Linked DNA regions of Homo sapiens: all the other regions are linked to region 1. The links are contacts of gene promoters, found by promoter capture Hi-C in blood cells and fetal thymus (Javierre and others, 2016). All regions are on one chromosome and are shown on one strand. The core of a region is centred on a gene start or on the middle of the fragment in contact, and the rest is flanking DNA. Distances in the headings are between cores, read along the strand shown. Region 1 holds the start of EFNB2 (ephrin B2). Region 2 has its middle 46 kb from the start of ERCC5. Region 3 has its middle 5.6 kb from the start of TEX30. Region 4 holds the start of LOC105370337 (a long non-coding RNA gene). Region 5 overlaps BIVM-ERCC5 (BIVM-ERCC5 readthrough). Region 6 overlaps BIVM (basic, immunoglobulin-like variable motif containing). Region 7 overlaps BIVM-ERCC5 (BIVM-ERCC5 readthrough).

The links. Contacts are between HindIII fragments. The CHiCAGO score rates a contact against its expected background, and 5 or more counts as called.
Region 2: a fragment that was not itself captured here is called in contact with the fragment with the promoter of EFNB2 in region 1 in 4 of 17 cell types (naive CD8 T cells, M1 macrophages, total CD4 T cells and 1 more); the score reaches 8.5 in naive CD8 T cells.
Region 3: a fragment that was not itself captured here is called in contact with the fragment with the promoter of EFNB2 in region 1 in 1 of 17 cell types (activated CD4 T cells); the score reaches 5.1 in activated CD4 T cells.
Region 4: a fragment that was not itself captured here is called in contact with the fragment with the promoter of EFNB2 in region 1 in 1 of 17 cell types (monocytes); the score reaches 5.2 in monocytes.
Region 5: a contact is called between a fragment that was not itself captured here and the fragment with the promoter of EFNB2 in region 1, in 10 of 17 cell types (total B cells, total CD4 T cells, naive CD4 T cells and 7 more). The highest score is 11.4, in total B cells.
Region 6: a fragment that was not itself captured here is called in contact with the fragment with the promoter of EFNB2 in region 1 in 6 of 17 cell types (monocytes, non-activated CD4 T cells, naive B cells and 3 more); the score reaches 9.7 in monocytes.
Region 7: a fragment that was not itself captured here is called in contact with the fragment with the promoter of EFNB2 in region 1 in 14 of 17 cell types (total CD4 T cells, total B cells, total CD8 T cells and 11 more); the score reaches 29.6 in total CD4 T cells.

What each region holds. Positions count from the first base shown.
Region 1 is chr13:106,534,143-106,537,194 of GRCh38, forward strand. EFNB2 (ephrin B2) reads right to left here and starts at 1,520. Exons shown (of 5, transcript NM_004093.4): 1 at 701-1,520. The coding sequence starts at 822. RefSeq lists a silencer at 1,308-1,967 and an enhancer at 2,548-2,617. The HindIII fragment of the contact is 2,990 bases long and covers 1-2,937 here.
Region 2 is chr13:102,890,425-102,893,456 of GRCh38, forward strand. It overlaps the pseudogene METTL21EP. Among named protein-coding and RNA genes, the nearest start is that of ERCC5, 46 kb to the left of the region's middle. The HindIII fragment of the contact is 9,059 bases long and covers 1-3,032 here.
Region 3 is chr13:102,778,000-102,780,751 of GRCh38, forward strand. No RefSeq gene overlaps it. Among named protein-coding and RNA genes, the nearest start is that of TEX30, 5.6 kb to the left of the region's middle. The HindIII fragment of the contact is 4,617 bases long and covers 1-2,752 here.
Region 4 is chr13:102,759,180-102,761,971 of GRCh38, forward strand. LOC105370337 (a long non-coding RNA gene) reads left to right here and starts at 475. Exons shown (of 3, transcript XR_931685.4): 1 at 475-1,376; 2 at 2,022-2,128. The HindIII fragment of the contact is 1,397 bases long and covers 641-2,037 here.
Region 5 is chr13:102,852,926-102,855,804 of GRCh38, forward strand. It overlaps BIVM-ERCC5 (BIVM-ERCC5 readthrough), which reads left to right. Exons shown (of 23, transcript NM_001204425.2): 11 at 832-947; 12 at 1,363-1,449. ERCC5 (ERCC excision repair 5, endonuclease) reads left to right here. Exons shown (of 15, transcript NM_000123.4): 3 at 832-947; 4 at 1,363-1,449. Among named protein-coding and RNA genes, the nearest start is that of ERCC5, 8.3 kb to the left of the region's middle. The HindIII fragment of the contact is 1,129 bases long and covers 890-2,018 here.
Region 6 is chr13:102,836,770-102,839,888 of GRCh38, forward strand. BIVM (basic, immunoglobulin-like variable motif containing) reads left to right here. Exons shown (of 11, transcript NM_017693.4): 10 at 1,874-1,970; 11 at 2,803-3,119. The coding sequence ends at 3,096. It overlaps BIVM-ERCC5 (BIVM-ERCC5 readthrough), which reads left to right. Exons shown (of 23, transcript NM_001204425.2): 8 at 1,874-1,970; 9 at 2,803-3,034. Among named protein-coding and RNA genes, the nearest start is that of ERCC5, 7.7 kb to the right of the region's middle. The HindIII fragment of the contact is 3,733 bases long and covers 1-3,119 here.
Region 7 is chr13:102,870,821-102,873,722 of GRCh38, forward strand. It overlaps BIVM-ERCC5 (BIVM-ERCC5 readthrough), which reads left to right. Exons shown (of 23, transcript NM_001204425.2): 21 at 1,378-1,578; 22 at 2,439-2,523. It overlaps ERCC5 (ERCC excision repair 5, endonuclease), which reads left to right. Exons shown (of 15, transcript NM_000123.4): 13 at 1,378-1,578; 14 at 2,439-2,523. Among named protein-coding and RNA genes, the nearest start is that of ERCC5, 26 kb to the left of the region's middle. The HindIII fragment of the contact is 3,052 bases long and covers 9-2,902 here.

The DNA.
Region 1 (3,052 bases), core at 270-2,769:
CGGGGCTACCGGCTTATGAACGAAGCGGGAGGCCGAGGTGCGGCGGGCCCTCAGGGAGAAGCCTAAGGCCCGTCTCCCCGGCGCGGAGGAAAGGGCTCGACGCCCGAGTTCTCCTGCGAAGCAGGCGAGCTCCCCGCGCACCCTCGGGCTGGCGGCGCGGTGCCAAGGCGCCCCGGCTCCAGGGCTCTGCGGGCAGCGTAGCGACTCCAGGCTCCCCTCTCCAGAACGCGCTTCGCTGCCAGCGTCCTGCCACCCCGGTCGCCCGCCCGCGGGCCCCGGACCACGCCGCCCGCGCTCCCCGCGAATGCAGCATCTCCGCCTCTCTCCAGAGCCCACCAGTCCCCGCGTGCCGGCCAGCCTAGATTGTGGCCATGTCCTTCGTCCTCGAAAACAGGAGAGGGTCAGGTATCGCCATCGGACACCTTCCCGGACTTGACACCCGAGCCGATAGTAGCTTTTAGCGCCTGGGAGCGTTCGGGGGAGGAAAGGCGGAGAGACCGTCCGTTCCAGCGGGGCTCGGGTTGGAAAGCCGAGCGAGGAGTCTCCACCTAGTGAAATGGGGCGGGGGTTGGGGGTGGGGGACGGGGAACCGAGGTTCCAGAAACAGGCTCCGAGGCCCCGCGGACTGACCCCTCCTCCCGCCCGGACGGCGCGGCGGACCCCGGGGCGGGGACATAGGGGGATCGCGGACGCCACTTACTTGGAGTTCGAGGAATTCCAATAGATAGGCTCTAAAACTATCGATTTGGAAATCGCAGTTCTGCATAAAACCATCAAAACACCCCAGCAGTACTTCCACACGGAGTCCCTTCTCACAGCCATGGCGAAGCCACTCCCAGCTCCGCGCACTCCGGGCCAAGAAGGGACTGACGGGACGCAGGCTGGGACCCCCAATCCTCCGGGGCAGACTGGCGGGGAAGACGGCGTGCGCCCGCAGGCAGCTCCGAGGCGCGCTGCGCAGCTCCAGCGGTCGCCGGGCCAGGTGCGCTCGCTCTCCGGGGCCCTCAGGGCGCGGGGCGGGAGCGCACGCGCGGGGCGCGGCGGCGCGGCGGACTCGGGGTTCCGGGGCGCCGCGCCGGACGCAGCTCGGACGGCCGACTCCCGTGCGGCTCCAGGGTGCCGGGCCGGCCGCGGCTGGCGGGTGGGCGCGGGGCGGGTGCGGGCTGGGACACAAAGACCCGGAGCGGAGACGACCGGCGCGGGCGGCGGGCGCTGCGCCCCGAGCGGGGCCGCCTGTGACTATAGATCCAGTGCAGCGGGCAGCGGCCCGAGCGCGCGGGCGCCGCGTCGGCGCGGTTCCATGTCCCGGAGCACGGAGCGGAGTAGGGCGCCTCCGGGCGCGCAGGAGCCTTCTCAGTCCGCGCGGCTCCCGGCCCCCAGGGCAGGAAAGAGGGAGCTCGGTCCCCGCCGCGGGCTCCGGACGCGCGCGGGCCTTTGTGTGCGGGGAGGGCGCCGGGACCCGCTGCGTGCGCAGCTCCTCGCTCCGGCCGGCGCCGCGGTCCCCGCCGAGGAGAGTCAGCGCGGCCGCCGCGCTGTCAGAGCGCTATAAACGCGGGGCCCCGCCCCGCCGCGCGAAGCCCATTGGCCCGCGGCTCCGCGGCCGCGCGCTGGTTGGACGGCCGGTCCGTCCGTCCGCCATCCCCTCCCGACATTGGGTGCCGCGAGGCGGGGCTCGGGCTGACAGGTGAGCCCCGCCCCTGGCTCCCGCGGGCGGCGGGAGCGGAGCAGAAGCCGGGCAGGAGAAGCGCTCAGCGCGTGCACAGGGCGCCCCCGGGGCGGCGAGAGGCCTTCTGGGCGCGGTGCAGACGTGGAAACAGCGACGGCCGAGTAGCGGGCCACCTGTCTCCGCGCCCGGGGGCGCCTTCCCCCTCGGCGGAATCAGAGGGCGCGGCTTTCCCTCGAGCAGTGCGGAAGGCAGCAGGCTCCGCTCGGCGTCCCTTCTCCGCAGATGCGGCGCTGCCCCGCGTGCAAGACTTGCACTCCGCGCGCACCCTTAGAGCTCCCGGCTTCTGCGCGCTTCTCCCGACGCCTCTCGGCGAGGGCTTCTCACTTGATTTTGGTACCAATCGCCTACGGCTCAGTTTCAGTCAGTGGGGCCGGGAATTGCAAGACGATTCCTGCGACGCGGCGCCGGAATTTGCAGCTCTAATCAGGGCCTGAGCATCGTCGCCTCCCGCCTTCTCTGCGGGCGTCTCCCTTCCCTCCTGGCCCCCCGGGAAGGTGGCGCCCCTGGAGCTTTCCCCGCGTGTCGCCGGCACAGGCACGACGCGGGGACCGTCTCACTAGCCTCTAGGAGACACGCGCGCTTCCCAAAGTGACCAGAGATTTAGAGGGTGTGAGATGGAAAAGTCAAGGCATGTGCTTCTCACTCGGCGTCTGCAAGACCCCAGAGCAGAGCTGGCAGGAACTCCTCGCTACTTTCCCGGTCGAGCGCCGGTGCTGACGCTCGTCCGTGACTTCCACGGAGCCACAGCGCCCACTAGCGGCCAGCTTTGCTTCTCCGCATCTCGAGCGCTCTGCGGTCCACCGACCCGGATCCAGCATACTGCAGCATCTAATCAAGTCACAGTTCCAAGGAAAATCTTTTTATATGTCCAACAGTAGGAAGAACACGGTAGAAATAAGGCACAGTGCAAATGTACGATTCAGTATGAAAAATTAAAATATACTGTATGCCCACGTTTTTTTTCAATTTAATGCCGTCCACCCCAGGATTTATGTTTCAAACACAAACTGGGCAGTAATTCTACAAATTATGTATTTTTAAAACAAAGTATCCACTACGCTAAATTTAAAAATGCATATGGTAAAACACCTTGTTTTCTTTCACTCTTCTTTGTAACAATTTCTGAAGATTTTTATGGTACGTTGCTTTTAAGTATCCGTTTTTGAAACATTAGTCTAACTTAACGTATACATCTCAGTTGGAGTGGTAAAAGCTTGTGAAGACTAGTTTAAGATAGAAAACACATTAAGGCATACAAAGTACTGAATACACTTACTCTTCCAAACAGATCTTTGAGAGCAGAAAAGTTTCATAATTTATTTTCAT
Region 2 (3,032 bases), core at 178-2,677, 3.6 Mb before region 1:
CTTTTGACTCATATTGAGCTTGTGGCCAAGTAAATGTATCTGTCTGTCCCCATCCCCTACACAGTGCTGCTAAACTCAGGCTGAATACAGACTTTAGACTTATCTTTATTAAATTTCACATTGTTAAGACCAATCCATTTTTACAACTGAAGACATTTTCCTTCACATTTAGTTTTCTGTTATACTTGTTGTCCCCATCCCATTTATATATTCTGAAAATTTTATAATACTTGTAATGTCATCAGTTAGTCGAACCATTGACAAAACTGTTCATCAAGGCAAAGCTGAGAACACACCATTTATTAGAAATGTCTATCCAGGTGGGCACCAAAGCCAAGAGCCTTGGGAGTACTGTGGAAAAGCACTTTCTTCCAATCCAACAATTCTTTATAGGTATGCCCTGAGATACCACATGTTTGTGTCTATGGATTTCCAATTTTTCCAAGGGCAGGGACCATGTCTATTTGGCTAGCTACTATACTCCATCACCCAGCACTGTGCCTGGGACACAGAACAGCTAGAATTGCGCTAGGACACCAATATGAAGAGGTGGGTTCTTATATTCCATCACCAATCTCTCTCTTATTCTATATGAACTGATTGGTGGCTCTTAAAATATATTGCTTTAAAAAAGTACATCAATTATTATTTGTTGTGTGTAGCATTGCAGAAGGGGATAATGGTGATTTGAACTCCCATGAAAATAAGAAAGATGTTGCCACCCTGATGAATGGAAATATTAGCTTACATTGAGAGTCATTTTCAAATAGTTTACCTTATTATTTCTCACCTAAAGTCACTGAATATTCAAAAGCTCCTTAGACTAAGCAGAAATGCTGTATTTCCATCAAGTTCTTTTCTCTTTTCATGGATTTACTTATACAACCATTACCTTTTTCTTTTCCTTTCAGACACCAGAGAAGCCTATGATGACAAGCAGGTGGTCACAGAGATCATGGCAAGATGTTTTATTCCAACTCTGATAACAACTACTTCCTGGGAAAGTTTTCATTTTATTGGTCATGAGATTCGAATTACTGAGGCCATGGATTGTTATGGTGCTGTTGTTTGGCCATCGGTATAATTTCATACAGAATTTGTTACATTCCAATTATTTTTCCAGCCGGTTTTATTCATTATTATGTTCTATTTGGAAGAAGAAAACAGGTTCCATATTCCTTCTTTGTGACCTCAAATAGTACTATGTTTTAGAAATCATGTGACTAGGAAATTATTTCTCCCAATTAATTCTGTAATTCTATTTCTTTTCTTTTCTTTTTTTTTGAGACAGAGTCTTGCTCTGTCACCCGGGCTGGAGTGCTGTGGCTTGATCTCAGCTCACTGCAACCTCTGCCTCCTGGGTTTAAATGATTCCCCTGCTGCAGCCTCCTGAGTAGCTGGGACTACAGGCATGCAACACCACACCAAGCTAATTTTTGTAATTTTGGTGGGAATGGGGTTTCAACCACGTTGGCCAGGCTGGTTTTGAACTCCTTGCCTCAAGTAATCCATCCACCTCCACCTCCCAAGGTGCTGGGATTACAGGCATAAGCTACCACGCTGGGCCTCAATTAATTCTATTTCTGACTTTATTGAAATTTGTAGGATTAATACAGGGTGTTGTTTACTTCTTCAGTTTTTAAAATAAGAGTTTAGAGCAGTAAACATTTTTATTTCCCCTTTTATCAGCTCCATTTGAGTTAAACAATTACATTGAAATCTATATGAGTCTCACATGTAGAATGTCCTCAAAGACCCTCAATCCTTTACCAACTGTCCCATGAAGAGTAATGGACCCACCACCCCACCTGCCCCAATCCCACACACCACTTGGAAATGACTAGTATTATCAGAAGTTGCTTCCTTTAAAAATGATCAAACCTAAGCAATTGAACTCCACATTTTTAGTTATTTCTCTTTTCCTCTCAATAATCCCCAAGGAATTTTTCTAGCAGAAATGTTGAACCTCTCAGAGGATGCACTTTTGTTCATATTTTTTGGAGTGATGTACAAGTACACACATGAGTACTCTCATGTACTCATATGAGCACGCATACATAGCATAACATTAGCAGCATATTTGTCCAATAAAGTTTAATTTTACTTTCTGTTATTACTTGCCAAGCGTCCCTTTTTTTTTTTTTTCTAACTTTCATAGGCCCTTGTTCTATGCTATTTCCTGGAAACAAATGCAAAGCAGTATAATATGGTTGACAAAAACGTGATTGAAATTGGAGCTGGAACAGGGCTAGTCTCCATTGTGGCAAGTTTACTTGGTAAGCAGATATTTTTGATTGAATAGAGGGAGTGTCAGAGAATTTAATGATCAAATATCATTAGTTGTTTTACTATCCAGTGTACTATGACCTGTGCCTATCTGTGACTCCTTAACTGTTTGAATGGGCTTCATCTAGAAACTACAGATTTTAAAGTCTCCTTACCAGTCTCTTTTATAGTTTTCTGCATTAAGTTGTGTTAATTCCGGTCTCTTTCATAGTTTTCTGCATTAAGTTGTGTTAATTCTTCTTGTGGAATACTGTCACAAGCCTCAGATGAAATGTTCTAAATAAGAGTTGCATGGAAGCATTCTGGTTGCAAGAGAAGAAATGTGAAATACCAGGCAGAGGCAGATTCTATTGCTGCTGATTCAGATGCACTTTAGATTTTAGCGCCATTTCAGTGTTCCCATGTAGCTGTAGATTCCTTTTGAGTTTTGAAGTGCTATGCTTTTATGAAAAAGCACGTATCAGAATAGGGAGATAATATTAGAAATCACACAAAAATCACACGTCTGCTTCTATTTTTAGGTGTTTGTCCTTGAATTTGTTTTCTCAGTTCATTCAATTCTTTTTTTTTTTTTTTTCTCTGTCGCCCAGGCTGGAGTGCAGTGGCGCGATCTCCGCTCACTGAAACCTCCGCCTCCTGGGTTCAAGTGGTTCTCCTGCCTCAGCCTCCCCGAGTAGCTGGGACTACAGATGCCCACCACCATGCCCAGCTAATTTTTTGTATTTTTAGTAGAGACAGGGTTTCGC
Region 3 (2,752 bases), core at 90-2,589, 3.8 Mb before region 1:
CAGCAGACCGCCTTCAGGCTTGAACTGCAATACTAATCTCTCCTGGGTCTCCAGCCTAATGGTCTTTGGACTTTAACTGCAGATTTTGGACTTGCTAGCCTCTATAATTGTGTGAACCAATTTCTTAAAATAAATCCTTATGAACACACACACACACACACACACACACTCACACCCTTCTATTGGTCATATTTATCTGGAGAATCCTGACTAATGATATACCACTGAAGTCTGAAAGACAATAAGAATGCTTGTTGTCACCACAATCATTCAACATTATGCTAGAAGTTCCAGCCAATGCAATAAGGACAGAAAATAAATAAGATTATAAATATGGTAAAGAAGATACACTGTCAGTTTCAAATATGACTGTGTTTGAGAAAAAACAAGTGAAATGTATTAGAGCTAATAAAATCGTTCGTTAAGGGGTTGGGTACAGAACATATATAAAAATCTATAGTTTTCTTAGCTACATTAAATAACCAGCTAGTGAGACCCTGTCTCTACAAAAAAAAACACCCAAAAAACAAAAAACATAATCTTTTGAGCATTAAAAGACAATGAAATGAGAGTCTAAGATATACCATAAAGTAGGATGTATGCAGCATATACCACAAAGTACTAACTCCAAAATATATGTCTATGAATCCAGCAGGAAGTTGAACAACTTAGTAGGAAAATAAGTAAAAATTTAAAAAGATTAAAAATTTTACAGGAAAGGCAACACAAATGGCTCATAACCACAAAATGGTCAACCTCATTAATAATCAGAGAAATGAAAATTAAAACATAATGTGTTACCATTGTGTACTAATCAGATTGGCAAAAAATTTGTAAGTCTGATAATATCAACTGTTAGCAAGAAAGTAAAACAACTGCAAATTCTGTACAGCCCTGGAAAGAGCATAAACTGGGACAACCAATTTGGAATCATTTAACATTATCGAGTGAAATAACAGGTGTACATTCCTTATAACCCAGTAATTCCACTTCTAATCAAATGTGGCCAAGAAACATGAATAAGAATGTTTGCTGTAGCACTGATTGACATTCCCCCCAAATGAGAGGAATCCAAATGTCCATCTGCAATGGACGGTAAAATAAAGTGATCATATTTATATGGTGAAGTACTGTCCACATATAAAAAATGAATAAGGCTGGGTGTGGTGGCTCATGCCTGTAATCCTAGCACTTTGGGAGGCCGAGGCTGGCATAGCACTTGAGTTCAGGAGTTTGAGACAACCTTGGGCAACATGCTGAAACCCTGTCTCTACTAAAAATACAAAACATTAGCCGGGCAAGGCAGGCACCTATAATCCCAGCTACTCAGGAAACTGAGGCAGGAGAATCGCTTGAACCTGGGAGGTGGAGGTTGAAGTGAGCCAAGATTGTGCCATTGCACTCCAGCCTGAGTGACAGAGTGTGACTCTGTCTAAAAAAAAAATAGGCAAGTAACAACAACAAAAATTTGATATGATTCCATTTATATCAATTTCAAAATAGGCAAGAGTAAACTCTACTGCTTAGGGAAGTGTATGTAGGTGGTAAAACTAAAAAGCAAGAAAAAGATTATCACAGCCATCATGTTTGTGGTTACCTGGGAGCAGAGAGGAAATGTGATAAGAGGAGGCACTGTGGTCACCTCTAAGCAATGTTCTATTTCTGAACCCGAGTGGAAATGTCGAAGAAAAACCAGAGCTGGACGATAGTTAAAGTGGTAAAAAAACAGATGTTATTCAGGACTATTGCAACAGGGGAAAAGACACTTCAGTATAGGATTGGACTCAATTCTGAATACAGCATGGTTAAATGGGCATTTATAGCCAAGGAGCAGGGTAGGGAGTCAGTGGATGGAAAATTACTAAGAGGAAATGCATCAGGGTGACAGAGATTCTGGTTAAATAGACCAAATGGGATTCTAGCTGAAAACAGGCCAGCACGATCAGACATGACCTGGGGGATGGTAGAGGATGAGGAAGCAGATTAGATATAAAGTGTGGTCACATATGGAGGGTGGGGGATTTTTGTGAAACTGACTTAGCAGGGTTCTTGCTAAAATTGAATTTTATAAGGCAGTGCACAGATAGGCCTACGACAAGGTTCAGGAGGCTGATGAAAGGATGGTGATATGGTCTGGCTGTGTCCCTACCCAAATCTCATCTTGTGGCAGGCCAGGTCTCACTAACGCAGGCCTCCATACAACAGTTTCAGTACTGACTGAGTGGTTAAATTAAATGTTAAAAGCCAGCGTCCTTATACAAAGGCTGGAATGTAACAACAGCCCAACAAGAGTTTTGCCTAGGCCTTTCCTGAACCTTAAAGCATGATAAAACAAGTTTTACTGGGGGCCTGAAGAAACTCCCAAGGCCTCCATAAACTAATTTATTGGGAGTCTGAAGGAAATCCCTAAACCTTCGTGATTTAGTAGGAGACAAGATAAGGGTAATCACCCCAGCACCTGGACTCATTTAGATTAAGTACATTTACTGAGGCTCCAGAGAAAGGTCTTCAAGACTCAGACCTTAGTTACAGATTAAAAGAAGTTAATCACTTATGTGTTTAGATGAATGCATACTTAAATATAGACATATAGCTTGGAAGGTATATAGGCTCTGGAAAACTTTGTAATTTTCAGTTGGTCTGGTGATAATTTCCAGGCCTTCTCCCTGTAGCTGGTTACAGAAATAAAAACTCTCTTCCTCCCCAGTTCATCTGCATCTTCTTATTGGGCCACGAGAAATAGTAGCCTGAC
Region 4 (2,792 bases), core at 89-2,588, 3.8 Mb before region 1:
TACACTGTATAAGTAGTTTTTTACTAAAATTCAAAAAATTACCTTCTCTTAACTTCATAGATAGCAACATAATTCTATCATGGATTGTTGCTGCCCTATTATAAATATAGAATAAATTTGGATTGGTAGAAAGCATTTGACATAACCATTTCTATTAACACCAGGAACAATGTATTTTATGCTTCTTTGTGGTAAGGAAAATATAGTCCTTTCTTAGAATGAATATAGATAGAGTTGACAGGTTTAGCAAATAAAAACATTAGATGCCCAATTTAATTTGAATTTCAGAGAAATGTCGAATAATTTTTTTGGTCTAAGTATGTCCCATTACAACTATGTAGAATGTATGATGACTTGTCTTTTATGAGTCTGATTTTTTTCTTAAAATAGAACACATTTTATATTTCTTTTTGCTAGCAGGGTCTGTTGGCACCATTTCCCTTCAACAATCTATTGACATGCTGAAAACTAAAGTGTCTTTGGAATAACCTCCTGGTGAATTTCCTTTTCACCCTGTCTACAGTGATTTCAGGGAGCTACTTGTGATGTCCTTTCCGATGTCAGAATTAAGGGTAGGGCAGAGGCAGATGTAAGTACAGTACTGCCCACTCCCCTTCAAAGTCTAGTGGGTAGGCCTGGAAGCTTATTGAGCAAATATGATTTTAGTCACAAGTAGACAGGATAGTCTGGACTAATAATGAAAAATGTTAACACTACCTTGGATTTAGAGTACTCTTCCTTTGAAGGTGTAATTAATTAATACTTCCTTTGCAGATGTAATTCATTAATGCTTCACTTTGGTTTTGTTTTAGTACTTCACTTATCCAAGGTAGGTTAAGCAAAGAAGTATTATTCATTACACTGAAGTATTATTCATTACACTGAAGTGAACAGTTCAGGCCTCTTCTGTCACATCAGTTTAAATAAGTACAACAAAGATTTATGACTTCAGCTGGGCGAAGTGGCTCATGCCCGTAATCCCAGCACTTTGGAAAGCTGAGGTGGGTGGATGGCTTGAGCCCAGGAGTTTGAGACCAGTACTAGGCAACATAGGTGGACCTCCGTCTTTACCAAAAATTTAAAAATTAACTAGGCATAGTGGTGTGCACCTGTAGTTAGTCTCAGCTACTTGGGAGTCTGAGGTGGGAGGATTGCCTGAGCCTGGGAGTTGAAGGCTGCAGTGAGCCATGATCCTGCCACTGCACTCCCATCCTGGACAACAAAGCAAGACACTGTTGCAAAAAAAAAAAAAAGAAAAGAAAAAGAAAAAAGAATTATCAACTCTTACTGTCCCTGAACATTGAAGATCAAGAGATCAATGACATTCTAAATGTTGGAATTTACAGTCTTCCAGTCTCCTGGACCACAATGTACAGGTATTTCTAATCTTTATTTAAGTATAATTCTTATCTTGAATTTTGTCTTCGCAAAGAATCGCCCTTTAGAATGCTTGGTAGGTCTTCATTGGCTCTGAAAGAAACTTCAGCAATTCCTCTTGATTTTTCTAGAACTATGGTAAAGTACACCTTCCCCGTACTCCCCTGCCCACAAAGACAATTGAGGTGATTTTAGTCTCCTGGGTTTCCCCATAAAATTCAAGCAGCTGGGCCAGGCGCAGTGGCTCATGCCTATAATCCCAGCACTTTGGGAGCCCGAGGCAGGTGGATCACCTGAGGTGAGGAATTCAAGACCAGCCTGGCCAACATGGTGAAACCCCGTCTCTACCTAAAAATACAAAAATTAGCTGGGCATGGTGGCAGGTGCCTGTAATCCCAGCTACTCAGGAGGCTGAGGCTGGAGAATTGCTTGAACCCGGGGAGGCGGAGGTTGCAGTGAACCGAGATCACGCCATTGCCCTCCAGCCTGGGCAACAACAGCAAAATTCCATCTCAGGGGGGAAAAGAAAAATTAAGCAGCTGGAAAAATACTGTTACTCTCACCTACTTGCAGAAACTCTCTAAATCATTTAATGGTAACTATCTTAAAAGGGATTCATTGTTTCAACATTTTCTTCTCTCTAGTTAATAGATCTTTCCAAGCTTTATGGTACTGAATCCCTAATTAGCATTCCACTGAAGAGCTCTTAAGGAACTGAAAAGGAACTGCTGCGTACCACTCCTGCTGATGGGTAGGTTTACATAGGGGTAAGTATTATCCCTCTCCAGGGCTTTGTCATGTTTGTTACTTATGTACTTGCTACTAACAAAAGTATAATTATCTATTTTTCAGCATAAATGCTTCTGTCTCTTGGACTAGAAACCTCTCAGACCAATGTCAAGTGAACAGCATCAAAAGTAAATGCTAAGCAAGATTTACTTGCTTACAGAGTAAAAAGAAAAAGAGTATCAGAGAAAGCCTATTACAGTAGTAAAACATAGACACTACGAGAAAACACAATGAAAATTCTATTAAAGTTTTTTTTAAAACTTCCTATTATATTTACCAATGTTACCATCTTTGAACTATCTTGACATTATGAACTTGGTTTTTGTTCTTTACTTAACAGGAAAAAGTCCCAATATTAGATATATAAAACAGCAACATAAAGCCAGATATTGTTCAAAATTGTTAGAAATTCTTTCTGTAAATATCTTAGTTTAATACATGTGTTGAATAATAAATGTGTAAAGCACTGAACAAGGAACAAAAACGTGCTTTAACACATTTTGTTAACGTTTTGTTAACATCTTTGTTAACATTTAACAATGATGAGGAAAAAAAATCCCAAACTTGAAGGAATTTGTAATGTAAGTGAGATGGAGATATTAATAACTTAATGAGAAGGTAGAGTT
Region 5 (2,879 bases), core at 204-2,703, 3.7 Mb before region 1:
ACATAAAATAATGTTTAAACAGTCCAAATGACAGCACCCATTTGGATATATGACTTTTATTTGTTGAAAATACCAAAGTAATGAAATGATGACTTTGTAATCATACCAGATACTCTCTAAATGAGGATATAGGATAAAAGTAAGGATATAGGATAAAAATAAAAAGCATTTATAAATGCTGGGGGACCTTTGTTGCCTCAGTAAGAGTGTCTAGTCTTGAATGTTGCAGTTTTCAGTTACCCAAGGCATACTGTAAATCAGGTACTTTGTGGAAGGATTAGAAAGGAAAAGAGAATATCTTGGTTATTTTTATCCGATATTCAGCCATAAGCACAGGGACTATCCATTTGTCACTACTTGAACATTTCTTACAAGATATTTCTATACATTTTAGAATTTCTCATGATATATAATCTTGAATATTGAAGGGCAGAATTACATGTAAGTAATGCATGTTTATAAAAAGCAATATTAGAAATTGTTTTTGGTGTCACTGTGACATTTTATAGAATAAATAAATAATTTCTTTTGGGAAGCATTTAAGCTTTCCACTTCTTGGGCATATTAAAAGACATTTAAAAGAAACTGAAAGTAAATTAAGTTTCCCAAATATATTGTGTAGTAGCCCATTAAGTAATAGATGGAAACTCTGGGTGTCCTTTACGTAGCAGCAACCTGAAGATATACACTGATATGGCAATTAGGAGGAAATGCTAAAGCAGCCATAGTCTGAAAACTCAGACAAACCAAATTCTCTGGAAAATAAATCACAGCAATGTTTCTAGTGGTCTAATATCCTGAAGTGAGATCTTACATCCTTTCTTCTCATAGGTGAAGAGAAGGCAGAGAAAGGACTTAGCGTCCAGTGACTCCAGGAAAACGACAGAGAAGCTTCTGAAAACATTTTTGAAAAGACAAGCCATCAAAACTGCCTTCAGAAGCAAAAGGCAAGAGGAAAATTATAGTCGTGTTAGAGATGAAGTTTTAAAAAAGTGATTTTTGTCTTGATTTCCTGCGATTCTCTTTCCCTATCTAATTTTGACTCTCAACAGAAAATAGAGAGTGAAATGAGACAAGTAGGCTGCCATTTTGACCTGGTAATTTGGAGTTGTGGCAATTCTCCGTTCTGTGAGAATCAACTTTGCTAATGAGAAAAAAAAGCTGTCGTGTTGCGTCATGTACACTTTTTACTTTGATTATGGTCTTCTTGACTCTAGGTGAGCAGCCCCGCCAAGGTTCCTTCCTTTCTCTCGGCTGCATTTATTTTCCACAGCAGTGGCCTGAGAGCAGCCAGGTCAGGTCCCTGTTCACCATCCTGAGCAGGGTCTGCATAATCTGTTTAAAGATTTGTGTACTTTCCAGAGATGAAGCACTACCCAGTCTTACCCAAGTTCGAAGAGAAAACGACCTCTATGTTTTGCCTCCTTTACAAGAGGAAGAAAAACACAGGTAAATGTTTAACTATTTAAGAATATTATTTTAGTCATTGCTACATTCAGACACATTTAAACCTTGATGTGTTATCTACATGATAAGGCATGTGAACATTTCTTAATGCATCTGAAATAGGCATGCTCTATACCTTTCAGAATATTTTTCAAAGACTAAATTTTTTATTTACTATTCTTTGTGTTTTGGTGATTCATGATTCTTATTCCTCTTCATTCTAAAGAACTTCTGCCAGGGCTGTGGATTCTAAATTCTCCAAGGCATGAATTTTAGTTTTGCTTACACTTTGCTTACACATGCTGTCTCTAGCTGCTTTTCAATCCAGTATGGTCTCTCTCACCATGATGCTAAAATACCACAACCCATGACATTCTTGTTGCTAAATCTAGCAGACGCTTTGCACGTCTTAGTGTGCTCGACTTCTCTGCACTAAACACCATGCCACACTGCCCCGCTCCCCCGGCATCTCTCTGGCGCTTTCTGCTCAGCCTCTCTGTGGACTCCTCTTCCTCTGTCTCTCTCTTAATGGTTGGTGGTTTCTGTGTTTGAAGTGAAGGTGGAGAACCGGAAGCTTGGCAGTTTGCCTTTGTCCCCTGTCCTTCCCTCCACCTCTTCCTTTCCCAGGAGTTCCCAAGAGACAACTTAGCTTTTGTATCAGCTCAGTTCTATTTGTCTCCATTGCTACCACTGTCATTTTTTCTCCAGGTTACATTATTAGCTTTTAAACTTCTTTCTGTCTTTGTCTTTGATCATACCCTTTTTGTAATAGTTCCTCCCACCAAGCCCAATCTCTGTTTTGTGTTATAGTCTGTTTAAAATCCAAATCTGATATTGTCATTTCCTTACTTAAAACACTTTCTAGCTTCTCCTTCTCATTTTTTTCTTTCTTTTTTTTTTGAGATGGAGTCTCTGTTGCCCAGACTGGAGTGCAGTGGCACAATCTCAGCTCACTGCAACCCCTGCCTCCTGGGTTTAAGCGATTCTCCTGCCTCAGCCTCCGGAGTAGCTGGGATTACAGGCACGTGCCACCACACCTGGCTAATTTTTTGTATTTTTAGTAGAGACGAGGTTTCACCATGTTGTCCAGGCTGGTCTCGAACTCCTGACCTCAAGTGATCCACCTGCCTCGGCCTCCCAAAGTGCTGGGATTGCAGGCGTGAGCCACCACACGCAGCTTAGCTTCTCATTTCTTTAGGATAAAACTTTAACTCCTTAATTACACTTTCCAGTCTTATCCCTGCCTTTCTTCACATCATCCACAGGCAGGCTTTCTTTTCCTTGTTTCTATATGGTCATACAACTTAGTTCTTTTGCCTGGAACACTCTTCTCCATGAACCTTCCCGCTCCCTACAACTACACTCATTAATTCGTGGCTAACTCCAACCAGTGTAATTGCAGGAGATCCTGGAAAGCTTTTGTGACTCCTAAA
Region 6 (3,119 bases), core at 127-2,626, 3.7 Mb before region 1:
TTCTGGACCCTGTCCTACTAATCTGTCTGTCCTTTTACCGATGCCACACTCTCAATTGTTGTTTATACTAAATCCTGAAATTAGATAGCACGAATTCTCTGAATTTTTCTTTTTCTTAAAGATTGTTTTGGCTCTTCTAGGACCTTGGCTTTTCCATAAAAATTTTAGAATTTGTCCTTTTAATTAGAGTTTGTAAAGATTTTGATGAGGATAGAATCTATAGAATTCATAATTTTGGCTGGGCGCGGTGGCTCATGCTTGTAATCCCAGCGCTTAGGTGGGAGGATCACTTCAGCTCAGGAGTTCGAGACCAGCCTTGGCACTATGGCGAAACCCCATCTCTACTAAAACGACAAAAATTAGCCAGGCATGGTGGCATGTGCGTGTAGTTTCAGCTACTCGGGAGGCTGAGGGGGGAGGATCAACTGAGCCTGGGAGGTCGAGGCTGCAGTGAGCTGAGATTGCACCACTGCACTCCTCCCTAAGTGATAAGGTGAGACCCTGTCTCATAAAGAAAGAAAGAATTCATAGTTTAGTTTTGGAAGAATTGACATCATAACAACATGGACTATATCTTTACTTAATTAGAGCTTTAATTTCAACTTTTTAAAAAAATTTTTTCAGTATGGAGTTTTATGTCTTTTATTAAACATTTTTTCTCTATGTGTTCTATTACACTGCTGGTGGGAATGTAAATTAGTACAATCACTATGACAAACAGTATGGAGATTCCTTAAAGAACTAAAAGTAGATCTACCATTTGATCCAGCAATCCCACTACTGAGTATCTGCCCAAAGGAAAATAAGTCATATGAAAAACACACAGGCACACACGTTTATAGTGGTACAATTCGCAGTTGCAAAGATGGAGAATCAACCTAAGTGCCCATCAACCAATGAGTGGATAAAGAAAATGTGGTATGTATATTACCACGGAATACTACTCAGCCATAAAAAGGAATGAAATGATGTCTTTTGCAACAACTTGGGTGGAGCCGGAGGCCGTTATTCTAAGTGAAGTAACTCAGGAATGGAAAGCCAAATATCATATGTTTTCACTTTAAGTGGGAGCTAAGCTATGCGGATGCAAAGGCATAAGAATGATATAATGGACTTTGGGGACTCCTGAGGGCAGTCTGGGAGGCGGGTGAGAGATAAAAGACTACATATTGGATTCAGTGTACACTGCTTGGATGATGGGTGCACTAAAATCTCAGAAATCACCACCGAAGAACTTATTGGTATAACCAAAACCCAGCTGTACCCCAAAAACAATTGAAGTAAAACTTAAAAAAGATATTGCAATAAAAAGGTTTTCCTCAGTGTGTTATACTTTTTGATGCTATTGTAAATTGATTTTTTTAAAATTTCATTTCTTCATTATTTGCTGGTTGAATACAAAAATACAATTGATTTTCCTATGTAGACCTTGAATCTTCCATCTTTACCAAATCCTTTTAGTTCTAGTAGTTGTTTTGTAATTCCCTTGGATTTTCTGCACAATTGTGTTGTCTCCTAATAGAGACATATTAACTTTACATTCTTTTAAAAGTGGACTTGACTGTAATTGAAAAGGAAATATAGCATATTGCTGCTTTAGCATGCAGGATGTCATCTAACATGTTGGTATTTATTTATTCTGTAGGAAGAGTAACCAATTGTACACTGAAAACCTTGGCAACGGTTGGATAAACAGAATTGTCATAAAACTAGAAGTTATTACAGTTTAGTAGATGAAACAATGTTGAGATAAGAGAATTACTGCCAATTATTGCTGTGATAATATTGCAGCAACTTGCTCATGAAAAATTCCATTGCAATGATACTTTAGACCTAAAGAAAATTGTGCTTTATCCTTTCTTCTTAACTATAGATGGGCAGATATTGTTACTGATCTAAACACTCAAAATCCAGAATACCTGGATATCCGGCACTTAGAGAGGGGACTGCAGTATAGAAAAACAAAGAAGGTAAGAAGAACACCATTGTGTTTGAAGGCATTTCCCAGCTGACCAAAATGTGGTGTTTTACTTAGCACTCTTTAGGTTGCAAGTAACAGAAACCTATATTTGATAGAGGAGTGAAAATTATTTTAAGGACACACGGCTGTCTTTAAAACCCAAGGGCAAGGGGTATAACCTGGAGTCATAAAGGAATGGTAGATGGTAGCAGGTATTGGAATGACAGCAAGGGCCAAGTAGCTGGTAGTCTGCTTCACTCTTTTGGGGGCTATATATTGTTCTTAGCTTTCCTTTTGTCTGATTACTTTCTTCGTAAGATCATCATCTTTCCATTTATGTGTCGTTTTTAGATGAACAGTCTAGACTGAGACTGACCTGTCTTGGGTTCAGTTCCGTAGTCTTAGCCCAGCTTGGGCCAGATTAACTGTGGCCTTGTGGCAGAGTCATGTGTACAAACAAGGCTTTGGGAGAGGCTCTCAGGAAATGATATCTTATTGATGCAATCTTACTCATATAACTATATGAAGAATAGGAGAGAGAGGAAAAGGAATGATCTTGGTGTTTGAATTAGGCAGATGGGGAAGTTCTCTAGTATGTGTTGGGAGTGAGTAGTAGAGAGGCATGGGGAGGAAGGTGTTTTGGCTCCGGTGGGCATTGTTATATTTTGTAAAGGCAGCTGTTAGAAAAGGTGCAGGATGAGGTGCTCTGATGATGCCTGGAAGGAAAGTACCATTCTGAGGCCGGTGAAGTAAAAAAAGAAAGAAGGGAGTTCATAGGGACCTACAAATTAGTACAATTAATTTCCCTTTATTTTCTTCAGCCAACATTTTTTTCTTCTCAGGTTGGGGGAAATTTGCATTGCATCATAGCATTCCAGAGACTTAACTGGCAAAGATTTGGCCTTTGGAACTTTCCATTTGGAACCATTAGACAAGAATCACAACCTCCAACACATGCCCAGGGAATTGCCAAATCTGAGAGTGAAGACAATATTTCCAAGAAGCAGCATGGGCGTCTGGGCCGGTCTTTCAGTGCTAGTTTCCATCAGGACTCGGCATGGAAAAAGATGTCTAGTATCCATGAGAGAAGGAACAGTGGTTACCAGGGTTACAGTGATTACGATGGGAATGATTGACTATGCTTGCTACTGAACAGCTG
Region 7 (2,902 bases), core at 285-2,784, 3.7 Mb before region 1:
CACTAGCAAGCTTGTGAAGCGGGGGAGCCTGAGCTGCGGGCGTTTTTTCAGGTTCCATTGAGTACATAGATTGGTGAGGATTATGTTAGTAACTTTGATGGCATTTATTTTTTCCTAATTGTGTAAATGTTTCTGGTCAGTCGTCACTGCATTACAAACTACCTTCAGCCTTAGTGGCTTCACACAGCAGTAGTCACTGATTTTGCTCATGCCTCTGAAGCTCGCTCAGGCCTGGTGGGGGTGTCTTGTCTCTGTTCCATGTCGGCTAGGACAGCTCAGCTGGGCTAGGACCCCTTAAGATGGCTCGCGGGGCTGATGAGGTGGCTTCGGCCTCGGGGCCTGGGTGGACACTTGGTGAGCTTGGCTTCCTCATAGCATGTTGGAGCCAAGAGCAGGAGGTCCAGGGGACAGGAAGTGGCGAGGGCCTCCCCTAGGCCTGGCACGGCTTGAGTCACACTGGTCAGCCATGGCCGCCCTGCTCAAGAGGAGGCCACAGGGACCCCCTTCGTGATGGGAGGAGGGTCCAAGAGTGTGTCGCTGTCTTTATCCGGCCGATTTAGGCTTAGAATGGAAAACATTGAAAAATGAATAAAATATAAAGAAGAAAATGAATGGCTGTGTGCTCACGTAGAATATTGCCTAGCACACAGCGAAATAATAGTTGTTAGTGTTATTTATTTTAAGTATCTGTTTACTTTTCTCATATATGTGTTTTTTCCAAAACTGGAATCATACTTTAAGTAGAGTTCTATTATCTCTGTTTTTGTATATATTTATTTGTTTTACATACATATGTATTTATATATATATAAAATGTTAAATTTTAAAAACAGATACATGTATCTGTTTTTACAGATTTTTTAAACAAATTTAACATTTTCTTGGCATATTTACATTTTATTAAATATTCTTCGATCCATTATTGTATTTGATTTGAGGTAAATAATACAGATACATTACTTCCATTTTACTGCTGAGAAAGAGACCCAGAGAAGTTGTAACTTCTGTGGTATAATTATGAGTGTGGGCTCTAGAGGAAGACTGTACCAATTCCAGCTGTGAAATCTTGAGCCAGTTACTTATTTTTGAGTTCAGTTCCCTCCTCTGTGAGGTGAGGGTAACGATAGGGCATGGCTTGTGTGATGATTGGGCATGTGAAATATTTAACACAGTGCCAAGCACAGAGGAAGACTTCCATAAATGTTTGCCATCATTATACATTGTGGCTAATAGTACTAAAATTAATAAAATATTCTATATAGCATACAATTTGAGTTAGAACTTGAGTTTACATGTTCTAAGTTTAGTTCTTCATCCATAGTGTATGAACTATAATGTCTCATTGCTGTGTAAGTAATTGTTTCCTTTATTTTACAGAGAATGGTGGCATGAAGCTCAAAAAAATCCAAAGATAAGACCTAATCCTCATGACACCAAAGTGAAAAAAAAATTACGGACATTGCAACTCACCCCTGGCTTTCCTAACCCAGCTGTTGCCGAGGCCTACCTCAAACCCGTGGTGGATGACTCGAAGGGATCCTTTCTGTGGGGGAAACCTGATCTCGACAAAATTAGAGAATATCCTTTGCTTCTTAAAAGAGAAGGAAACACCTTGTCAAATATGTGTTTGGTTTAAAACTTATGGAAGAGAAACTTGGATCATTTTTTTCTTATATCCCGTTAATCCCATTTTCTTAATATCCCGCTCTCCTTTTCACTCTTTCTTCCCTCTCCTCAGTTGTTGTTTTTTGTTTGTTTGTTTGTTTTAAAGGAACAGTGTATCACTCTGTCACCCAGCCTGGAGTGCAGTGGTGCAATCATAGCTCACTGCAGCCACCACTTCCTGGGCTCAAGGAATCCTCCTGCCTCAGCCTCCTAAGTAGCACAAGCCACTGCATCTGGCCCCTCTCCTTAGTTTTAAAGAGGGTCTTTGTTTGAATAAGCAGTGATAAGCATTCATAGATATAACCACATACTTAAATATTATTGATTCTGAAAGAAGGAAAGATGACTAATCTTGTCCTTTTTATTACTGGTTGTCCTTTCCGTGTATATTTAAGTAATCATTTGGATAGATGTTTCAAAACTTGCACTAGAATTAATCCAACTACGTTTGATTTTTTCTCTTAATGAAATAGGCAAGATATCTGAAACTTGTTTTTATTCCAGTTAACCTTTTTTCATAGTCACAAGTCTTTGATGTCCTAAAGTGAGAGCTAAATATGTTTTATTTTATAGAATTGAAAAGAACATAGTGCCAGATGATTATGCTGGAGTCATTTATTTTGTTAGTACTTTCTTTTAGCACTCTAATCTTTATAAATAGGAAAATCTTAGGAGATACAGGGAATGGAATCAAGAATGGGTTCTTTGGACCTTTTTATTTGTCACTTGTTTAAATATCTTTCAAAATATTTATAAGTCTTAACTGCATGCATATTTTGTCAGCGGTATTTCGGCTGGAACAGAACGAAGACAGATGAATCTCTGTTTCCTGTATTAAAGCAACTCGATGCCCAGCAGGTAATCATGGTGGACCCTTCTCCTAAGTTCAGGATGAAGGGTAGGCTGTGGTTGACAGCTGTTAAAGACCAGTTAACTCTTATTTTGGGGCATAGAGCAGACATTTTGAAATTAGGATAATTTAGATGAGAGAATAGAAGAAAATAGAAAAAGAAAAGTTAGACTTTGGCTTCATTTTCTATGATCACTCTTAGGGCTGAACTTTGGAGTCCTTTCATATTCATTTTTTTCTTTGAAAAAACCAGTCTAATAACTGATTTCACACTAAGGTGTTTCTGATTAAATACATTACCCCTTGGGATTTACTTTCATTTTTTAACGAAAGGAAGTCTTCAAAGCAATTCTGATCATTTAAGTTTTTATAAGTACTAATATTTTT